2 separate regions of the Homo sapiens genome follow, and region 1 is linked to region 2. Evidence: promoter capture Hi-C in 16 types of primary human blood cells and fetal thymus (Javierre and others, 2016). All regions are on one chromosome and are shown on one strand. Each heading gives the region's core, a stretch centred on a gene start or on the middle of the fragment in contact. The rest is flanking DNA. Distances are from core to core; before and after follow the strand shown.

Region 1 (4,911 bases), core at 2,057-4,556, 160 kb after region 2:
CTTGTTTTATTTTTGAATCTTAGCTGGAATCTATCTTCATTAGGAGTCTAGCGTCTTGTTCTCCGTAGAGCTCTGAAATGGTATAACAGAGAAAGGGGTACTAGAAACAGCAGGCTGACTCTCTTTAATTTTCTTTTTCTTTTTTTTTTTTTTTTTTTGAGACGGAGTCTCGCTGGTCGCCCAGGCTGGAATGCAGTGGCGCAATCTCGGCTCACTGCAAGCTCCGCCTCCCAGGTTCACGCCATTCTCCTGCCTCGCCCTCCCGAGTAGCTGGGACTACAGGCGCCCGCCACCACGCCCGGCTAACTTTTTGTATTTTTAGTAGAGACGGGGTTTCACCGTGTTAGCCAGGATGGTCTCGATCTCCAGACCTCATGATCCGCCCGCCTCGGCCTCTCAAAGTGCTGGGATTACAGGCGTGAGCCACCGCGACCGGCCGACTCTCTTTAATTTTCTAACAACTCAAATAGAAAGTTTTTTGGCTTCTGCTGTTTCCTGACTCTTCCTTTCCTCTTTTCATATAGCTGGTCTACCTTACTGATGTTTCAAGTCACTCTAGCTGCTAGAATTTAGGTGAATTATATTTCAGGCTTTCAAGCCATTTAAGGGGACAAGGAAGATTGTTAACGTCTGGACCTCAGATCCACTGGCCTTAAGAGCTCAGTATCACTCCCCACGATGTTGGCAGATTGGTGTATGTTGTTCTCTGATGTTACCTTGTAGCCATCTAAATGGCTCTCTGCATGCTAAACCTTGGGGAGGAAAGGCTCAAATAGGGTTCACCTTCCCTAACTCCTACTCTTCCATCATTTTTTAAACTATCACAATATCCTGGACATTCTTATTCATTGCTGAATCAGTATAGTTTGAGTGTTTGGAAAAGAGGCGGTGAGAGGAGAACAAAGATGAGTGGAAAAAGCTGAAGTGAAAGCCTTTTCTCAAAAGCTCCTAGTCAGGAGAAGTGACACTGTAGGGCAGACAACTCTAGAAATAGTAGGATACACAGAGGAAGGGCCAGAGTTCAGACGTATGTGAACTCGATGTTGTAAATAGAACATGGGTATAAGGAAGACAGAACACTCTAGTGGTTGCTGGCACAAACTCCTGGGTTCTGATTTCCACTGTGGTGATTACTATGTGGTGACCCTAGACAAGTTACTCAACCTCAGCTTCCTTGTCCGTAAAAGGGGGATACTAATGGCACCAACTTCACAGGGTTGTTGTGACAATTGAATAGGTTGATTATATAAAGTGCTTGGAATAGCATCTGGCATTTGGAAGTGCTAAATAGGTATTAACTATTATTATTCTAGAGCCATAATCCCAAACCCACAGCAGCTTGCCACCACAGGAGTGTCTCTGATACAACCATTCTTTGAGCAAAGACAGTGGGGCATTCTTTCTCATAGTTACTTGTTCTTTTATTGTTATAGGCTCTACTTGGTGTCCAGGACATTAATTAAGCAAACAAGCTTTTGCTTAGAATTCAGTAAAAGCATCATAATCCATTTTCATTTCTACTTTAATACAAGGGTCAGTATGAATTGTCATCCATTGATAGTGGAAATTCTCTACAATAGCTTCTCTATGAGTATGTTAGCAGCACAGTGGAAAAAGAAATATATGAGAACCTTGACTGCTTTCCACCTCTTTCTCTCGTAACTTTCAGTATTCCACAATCAATTCCTTCCACACTACCAAGGAGAGTCCAAAGAAATCAGTGTCCTGAGATCCACCACTGAAATTAAGCATTGCTGTGGGTGAAACTCAAGTGACGCTGACTTTCCAGGATATAGGAGTAATTAGAAATATAAAGTGAATAAGAGAAGGTGGAACATTTGATGAGAAGTGATAAGTGGCCACAAGGTGGCATAGGACAACAGCCACAGAGCACTCCCTTCCTCCCAAGTGACTCCATTTTGCATAAGGGCTCTGTCTCTGCTGCCCTGCCCTCTTACAACTTAGCACCCTTAAAAGCTGTCTTTGCAAACACCCTCGTGCCTTTCTTCTCCCACATTCCGTAGTCAGTGGTCCTCTTTCCCTAGTTCCTCTTTTCTTTCAATAGGTCTCAATTCTCATTGTTTCAGCATGGATTCCCTTTACTCGCAGGTGACCCTGCTTGTTGGTCCTGTACTCGGCAATTCCTCCTTCAGAAAAGTGAGCTCGGCAGGGCACGGTGGCTCATGCCTGTAATCCCAGCACTTTGGGAGGCTGAGGCCAGCAGATCACGAGGTCAAGAGATTGAGACCATCCTGGCCAACATGGTGAAACTTCGCCTCTACTAAAAACACAAAAATTAGCCAGGCATGGTGGCAGGCACCTATAATCCCAGCTACTTGGGAGGCTGAGGCAGGAGAATCGCTTGAACCCAGGAGGCGGAGGTTGCAGTGAGCCAAGATCACACCACTGCACTCCAGCCTGGGCAACAGAGTGAGACTCTGTCTCAAAAAAAAAAAACTAAATAAATAAATAAAATAGAAAAGTGAGCTCCTCCACTGCATCTCCAAGTCACACATTCAGTGGAATCTAAGTGAGGCATGCAGCAGAGTCCACTGGTTTGGCCATTTCACCAGTCACGTTGGGGTCCAACAGGGCTGAGTAACAGAAGGCTGTTGATTGACTTTATGTAATCTTCAAGAGTTTCCTGAGTAGTCAGTTTGAGTTTTTTAGATGATATGATCTTCTATAGAGGAAATAGATTAGGGCATTAAAATTGAGAAAGCAGTGCCTGACTGGATGTTTGTTAAGGAATTATTACCCAAAGACAAGTGGCCTAGGAGTCAGTAGACTGACCTGGATTTTAATCCCACCCCTAGCACATAGCTTGTATGTTTAGGCCAGTTAATTAATTCTATGAGTGGCATCCTTTTGTCCATAAAATGAGGGTAATATCCATCTTGTAGGATTTGTAACATGTAAAATATCTACTTCAATAAATGTTGGTTTCCTCTTTTTCCCTCATATGCAAAATGAAGGGGACTGGGCCAGGTGTTGTGGCTCACACCTATAATTCCAGCGCTTTGGGAGGCCAAGGCTGGAGGATAGATTGAGCCTAGGAGTTGGGGATCAGCCTGGGCAAGAAAGTGAGACCCCAACTCTACAAAAAAAAAAAATCAAAAAATTAGCTGGATGTGGTGACATGCACCTGTGCCTATGGTTCCAGCTACTCGGGAGGCCGAAGCAGGAGGATTGCCTGAGCCCAGGAAGTTCAGGCTGCAGTGAGCCAAGATCATGCCATTGCACTCCAGCCTGGGCAACAGAGTGAGACCCTGTCTCAAAAATAGTAGGGGGAGGAGGGACTGGACTAGATCTTTAAGTCTTTTCCAATGTTAATATTCTATGTTCTATACCTTATTACAATGATGACTCTCATAAATTAATGGAAGTCTGGCAGCAAGTGAATAATAAAGTATCTCCTGATTTTAGGGGAACAGGGGCTATCAAGAACTAAAATAGGATTGCTTTACACTTCTGTGAGCATTCTCTACAACTCCTTCCTCTCCAGACCTTTTGAAGAGGCAGAACAGTTTCCTGTCCCTCAATCAAAGACTACATATAAACAGGGAGTGGGCTGGGCATGGTGGCTCATGCCTGTAATCCCAAAACTGTGGGAGGCCAAGGCGGGCTGATCACTTGAGATCTGGAGTTCGAGACCAGCCTGGCCAACATGATGAAACCCTATCTCTATTAAAAATACAAAAAATTAGCTGGGTGTGGTGATATGCACCTGTATTCCCAGCTACTTGGGAGGCTGAGGCATGAGAATCACGTGAACCCAAGAGGCAGAGGTTGCAGTGAACCGAGATCACGCCACTTCACTTCAGCCTGGGTGACAGAGGGAGACTCTGTCTTTAAAAAAATAATAATAGGGAGTGGCCTCAGCCAAAGACATGGCTAGTTTAGAGTGGGAAGGGCTCAGCAACTTCCCAAAGCACAGGGTCCCAGCAGAAAGACTACCCTGTGATCCTTCCCTCAGGAGTGGCTTCCTTCCAGTGCCCCTATTACCTCCTCTTAGAGCCCGGAGACACTGCAAATGTCAGTGTCCAGGATGCTCTGGGTAGAAGTTAATGATTACTTGAGTCAGCTCTTTCTGCAAACCCTGATGCCTGTGCCTGGTCACTCCGAATCTGGAAGAGACACTGCATAATCTTTGGAAATTCACTGCAGTTATTTTCTTCATCTCCCAATAATCAACCTCAACAACATCCCTCAGTCCTAGGAACTTCCTAGATGGAGTTTGGTCTCTAGACTAGCTATGGGATATCATAACAGCTATGAAGGAATAGAATCATTTTGTGACTTTAACCTATTAGCCCTCTAGTACTGGCCTTAAACAGAGAGACAGGTTTAAAAAACAAAGCCCATGACTCAAGTTAAGGACTCCAGAGCCTGGAAACTCTCTCTCAGGATTGATACCTCTGTTGTTTTTTCAGGACTTAATGTTAGGAACATGGGTTCTCTATATTGGGGGAGTATTATGGAATGAATTGTGTCTCCACAAAATTCATGTGCTGAAGTCCTAACCTCAGAATGTGATTGTATTTGGAATGAGGGCCTTTAAAAGATAGTTAAGGTAAAATGAGGTCATATGGATGGGCCCTAATCCAATATGACTGGTGTCTTTTAAGGAGAAGAGATTAGGACACAGATATACCAAAGGTAGATCATGTAAAGATACCAGAAGAGAATGGCCATCTACAAGCCAAAAAAAAAGCGGTCTTCAAAGAAACCAACCCTGCCAACACCTTAATCTCAGACTTCAGCCTCCAGAATTATGAGAAAATTAATTTCTGTTGTTTAAGCCACCCAGCTGGTGTACTTTGCTATGTAATTCCAGAAAACTAATATAGGGAGAGTTATTAAGACATGTCTCATATTTCTGCCCTTTCCTATTGCCTCCAACCAGATTGT
Region 2 (5,204 bases), core at 1,806-4,305:
CCCTCTGTAATTCCATGTGCTAATATGTAACAGGGCAGGGGGTTATACACCAAGTATTTTAATAAGTGCCGTGCAACTTGCTGCACTGTGGCAGGGGAGGTTAGAGGCCAAAGGTGACGTCCACTCTAATCCTGCTTTCCCCTGTGCCTGCTTGTGAGTCCTCTGTCCCTCTCCCTCATCACAGAAAGTTCTCAAACAGACCTCCCTGCAGACGGGGGCAGAGTCCTTTGGCTCAGCATTTAGGCCTCCTCTTAACTGGCACATGCCAACAAAATGGAAAACCTCAACAGAACTAAACAAAATAATTCTTCTCCTCCCTCAAGAATGACAAAGAAAAGTAGCTTTACAGGAGACATGTAGACAACCTACATGACCCTTTCCCCTCAAGTTCCCTATACTATACTGAACTATTTCCTTCCATAGCTGAACCATTGTGTTTACTTCTATCTGAAATCTAATTACGCTAAATATCAGAGCCCCCACAATTATGAAAATCTATGCCAGCAAAATATGAGGGTCTTTGTGGATTTAATTTTATTTTCCCAGATTCCTTATTTATTATTTTACAATAATGTCTGATTTTTAACTATTTTGCATGTTAGTCTCTGAGTAAAATAGAGGGGAAGAAAATATTGTATTAGGTAGCAAATATATGGACAACACTATAGCAGCTGTTTTTCACATGCTAACTCATTTAATTTTCACAATACTCTAAGGATGAGATTATAAATCCCATTTTAGAGAGAAAGGTGCTAAGGCTCAGAGAGGTTCACTAGCTTGCCTAAGGTCACACAGCTACTAGGTGAAAAATTGGGAACCAAACTCAGCACACTACCTCTTCCTGCCTCCTCTTCCTCCTGGTGCTCTTTTCACTATATTAAAGCAACAATATTATAAATTTGAGTAAGGGCTTTTCTGGAAGTGTTCTGCAGCTCAGCCCCATATAAATTTGGACTAGTCCCTGCCTTCTTTTGAGCCTCAGTTTACACATCTATAAGATGAGAGCCTAAGATGCTGTTTCAGGTCCTTAGGATGCTAACATTCCAAGATTCCAGCCCCCATGGAATTTTAACTAGATCTTCTTTCTCTGGCTCTTACTTTAGTTCTCTCCCTAAATCCTTCTAGCTTCAACCCTTTTATTCACCCCAACTGTCTCCAAGGGTCTCTTTGGCATTAATGAAGCCACAGTCTCACAGACCTTGGGGGGCCCACGAATCTGGCTGAAAATGAGCATGCACCTCTTACAAATGAACTAAGATGTAAAGGAAAAAGCAATTCTCAGCTCTGAATGGGACTGAGGTGGGAATTGAGGAGGCTTTTCACATCTGGAGCCCAACCATAGACTAGAGATCAAATGCCCAGGTCACAGCATTGGCCACCGCTCTCACTCTGTCATCAGACTGGCCCAAAGAACTTGAACATCACCTCGGGAACATTTCCATGGCCCTCACCCCAAGTCCAAGTACAACCTACGTTTGCTATTACACACATCATGCAGTATTATAATGTGCCTGTGTAACAAGCCTGCCCCAGTCCCAAAGGGCAGAGACTGTGTCTCATTCATATTTGTATTCCCAGTGCCCAACACCATGCCTGCCTCATAAAAACTACCCTGAATGAATGTGCAAACTCCCAGGTCTAACACCTCCTGGTGACAGAGATCACTTCTACCTTGCAGTGTGTCACCATGCCTCCCAGGGGGTTCTGCCCAGCCAAGTTAGGCAAGCTTTAGTCCCAAGCCTTCAGATGAATTGGTCCACGGAGGAAGTCTGGAGAGCAGGGACTTTTCAATTTTCAAAACCTTATAAGAATTTCTGCTGTCTTGCCTGCCAGAATCTTTCTTTGGCTCCCAGCAACATAAGCTGCATGCCTCCAACTGACAAGCGACAGGCCAGTTGGTCAGCTGTTGCTTCCATTTACTCAGAGCTGGGCGGCTGTACTGTTTCTGTCACTAAATCAAGGGATCCTTGGGACGGATGTGCTTGGGCGTTAAGGCAGCCTGAGGACCTAGTCTCCGGAAGCTTCTGTGAAGTGTGACTGGGCTGCCCTGCCTGGCACGGTGACTTGAATCTTCAGTTTGCCAATTCTCTAAGAGCCCCAACCCCCCATCCCCAGATCTCTACCCCCAGAGTGGAAGTGATTGCAGCAACTCTTGCAGTAGAATTGGGGGCAGCAGCAGGGGAGGAGAGAAGAGGCTATTAGCAAATCAAAGGAAAGAAAACAGGGGAAGGAAAACACAGTAGCAAATTAAAGCACTATGTTTTCTTTTTAAAAATCCAATTAAAGGGAAATCTGCTTTTGAGTAAAACAATCATGCCCTTGTTACAAAGTATCCCAGGAACCCTCAAGATAGGCAAAACCTTTTTAATCACATTTTTTCTCATTACAAGTTGGCTAATAGGAACATCATAGTAATTCCCCGTTAACTCTTCCACTTTTCACACCCGCACAAACACACTGGGTTATAACAATGCTCTTATTCTATCTTTGTCTCAGACACATTCTCAAGCATGTTGGTTTACTCTCTCCTTAGAATATCCCCGTATCCTCATTCTGATATGCAAACGTATCCTCACCTACAGACCATTCTTTCCTCCTCTCCTCTCTCATGCACGCGTGCACACACACGCTGAAACGCTATATACACACTATATATGCATATAAACATATATGTTCTCCTTTTAATTCAATACTAATCCAGTCATTCGTATTTCCCAATTTCTTCTCAGTCTCTCATACAGGTCCACGCAGTGAAGCCCAAGGGAGATACTTACCTCCATAGCCTGCGGGAAACTTCATGAAGTGAGAATAATTTCCATACATGTTTACTCGTCAGTTCATGTTCCTCTCCTGTGCAGCTTCTAAATATTACCGCCTCTCTCGGCTCCCAGGCACAGCCCGGCTTTCTTCAACTTGGGCTAACAAGAGTGGTCATCGCTTCCTAGCAGCCCGGGGAGCACAGGCTGGGCCAGCCCTCTGGGATTAGTCAGGAATCTGCCTCTAGATCGGAGAGTCCACATAGTGCGTTTGAGACGGCTGTGGCGGCAGCAGCTGGTGCCTGTCAGTAATCACGCATAATGCTGCCGCCGCCGCCGCCGCCGCCGTCACCGCTACTCTTGCCACCGCCGTCGCTGCTGCTTGAGATCCTGTTGCTAGTTTGATTAACTCAGGGTTGGGCTGCTGCGTGCGACTCTTCCAGCTCCCGGCGCGTCCCCAGAGGTCCCTACCGGGTGGCACGATCTATTATCTAGGAAGCCAATCGATGTATGACCGCCCGGTGTAGGTCAGGAGAGAGGCGGGAGACGGCAGGGGATGGAAGACTCTTTAGGTGCCTGTTCCTTGACTTACATCCACAAAAATCAATGGGATTTTATTAAAATGCATTTTCTCATTCGAACTTCTATCTGTCCAATGTACTTGGTATTTGATCTGTGAAAGGAGGAGGGGGTGGGGTTCAAGAGAGAACAGGGCCCTTTCAGAAGCACAAGATTAGAAAAGCGTGATACTCAATCTCCAGCTACGGAAAACTAAAATAGAGTAGCCCTTAAGTTGAGGTGGGCCTCTCCTGCTTGGGTGGCCGGAAGCATTTATCTGTGCTCTAACAATGGGAGTTTGACAAGTGCAGCTGGAGCCAGAGCTCACTCAGGTGGAAAACTTACAGGTAGGGAGGAGGGGTTGGCTTGATGTGGAGGTCTTTCTCTGCATTTATTTTATATACCATTGTTATCCTGCCGCCTGTTCAAAAACACCACTGGGTCCTCACTAACACAGAGCCTGTCTTGTGTGGAACTGACCCGAGATCAAAGAATCTAAGCACCCCGTTGATGTTTGGGTCTGTCATACAGTTTTCGTGACAAGTCACCGCTCAGCCTATACTTGAACACCTCCAATAATGGGGAGCTCACCACTTTCTCATTCCATTTCTAGATAGTTTTCACCACAAGAAAGTTTCTTATAGAGATAAAATCTGCTCCTTTTCCCTACAGCTTCTGCCCACAGGTGCTAGACTGCTCCCAGGGGCCACACAAGAGAAGCCTGAAAGACAAAAAAGTCTTTCACAGTGGGATCCTCTGCAAATCCTGAGATTGATCTGCTGTGCCCATAATCCCCCTTTCCCTAGGCATCTCTGGCTCTTTCAGTAATTCTATGTATCACCAAGGGTTCATGTCTATTCCCAACCTATCCTTTTTCTAATAATGTACTTCAGTTTACATAGATACCCTCACAGTGAGGAAGGGGGTTGGCCAGACTTGGATGCAATACTCCAGATATGGTCCAAACCTTTTCCTCATGGTATATGTGTTGGCACGGTGATGGGGTGCTGTCAACATACCCATTGAAGGTCCGTTTCATGGGCTGAGCTCTGTTGGGCTGGAAAAAAGATAAGAGATTTTCTCCTGATGCAGCATAAGACATAGAGAGCCAGAGAGGTAAGTCAAATCAGGGTCCCAGAGTAAAAAATCAAGATTCAAATGCTAGGAGAAGCCAAAACAAAAACGTAGAATAAAAGACCAGAGTCAGGAACAAAGTCATGATGACAAAGGAGGAGGCCAAAATGGGGAATCAAAGCAAAAGCATGTCACAAAGGAGGAAGAAATATCCAGGCCTTCACTGTAAAGAGCTTTGGAGAGCCCAGAGCTGCCTTGACTGTTGCTGGGATGAGAGTCCAGTGGACATAAGTAATATAGAATACAGGAGGACCATTTGCTCACTTGCATTAGGTGGGCAGCTCTGCATGTTAATTCATGTAGAACTAACTCGATAAAAATCTCCCCACCCCTACCTCCCCTAAGTTGTGTTCTCTTATGCATATTCTTCATCCCATCCTTGGGCAATTGGTTTTGGGACCTACATGAAATGCTTCCTATATTCCTCTGAAGTTAAAACTTTTTGGCTTCATTCATCATCCCAAATCTTTTAGGATCCTGCTTCTGTTGTCCAAAATATTTCTTATTCATACCCTTATTTCATGACTTCTGAAAATCTGATGAACTGCTTTTTCATATCTTATTCGACTCATTGATAAAAATGTTGACATAGACATAGCAAAGACAACATCTTATATCACTAAAAAGTCCATTCATTAGTGCCTTAGACACTTTGCTCTGCTACTCACTAGTTATATGGCCTTGAAAGGCTATATGTATAGTAAAAGCACCAACTCACCAACTCACAAGCCAACATTGCTGGGTACAAATCCCTGT

The links. The method cuts DNA at HindIII sites, captures the fragments that hold promoters and counts their contacts. A CHiCAGO score of 5 or more calls a contact.
Region 1: a fragment that was not itself captured here is called in contact with the fragment with the promoter of RXRG in region 2 in 1 of 17 cell types (naive CD4 T cells); the score reaches 5.4 in naive CD4 T cells.

The regions. Positions count from the first base shown.
Region 1 is chr1:165,599,939-165,604,849 of GRCh38, forward strand. No RefSeq gene overlaps it. Among named protein-coding and RNA genes, the nearest start is that of LRRC52-AS1, 20 kb to the left of the region's middle. RefSeq lists a silencer at 2,437-2,597. The HindIII fragment of the contact is 3,672 bases long and covers 1,471-4,911 here.
Region 2 is chr1:165,442,071-165,447,274 of GRCh38, forward strand. RXRG (retinoid X receptor gamma) reads right to left here and starts at 3,056. Exons shown (of 10, transcript NM_006917.5): 1 at 2,775-3,056. The coding sequence starts at 2,823. The HindIII fragment of the contact is 7,493 bases long and covers 2,020-5,204 here.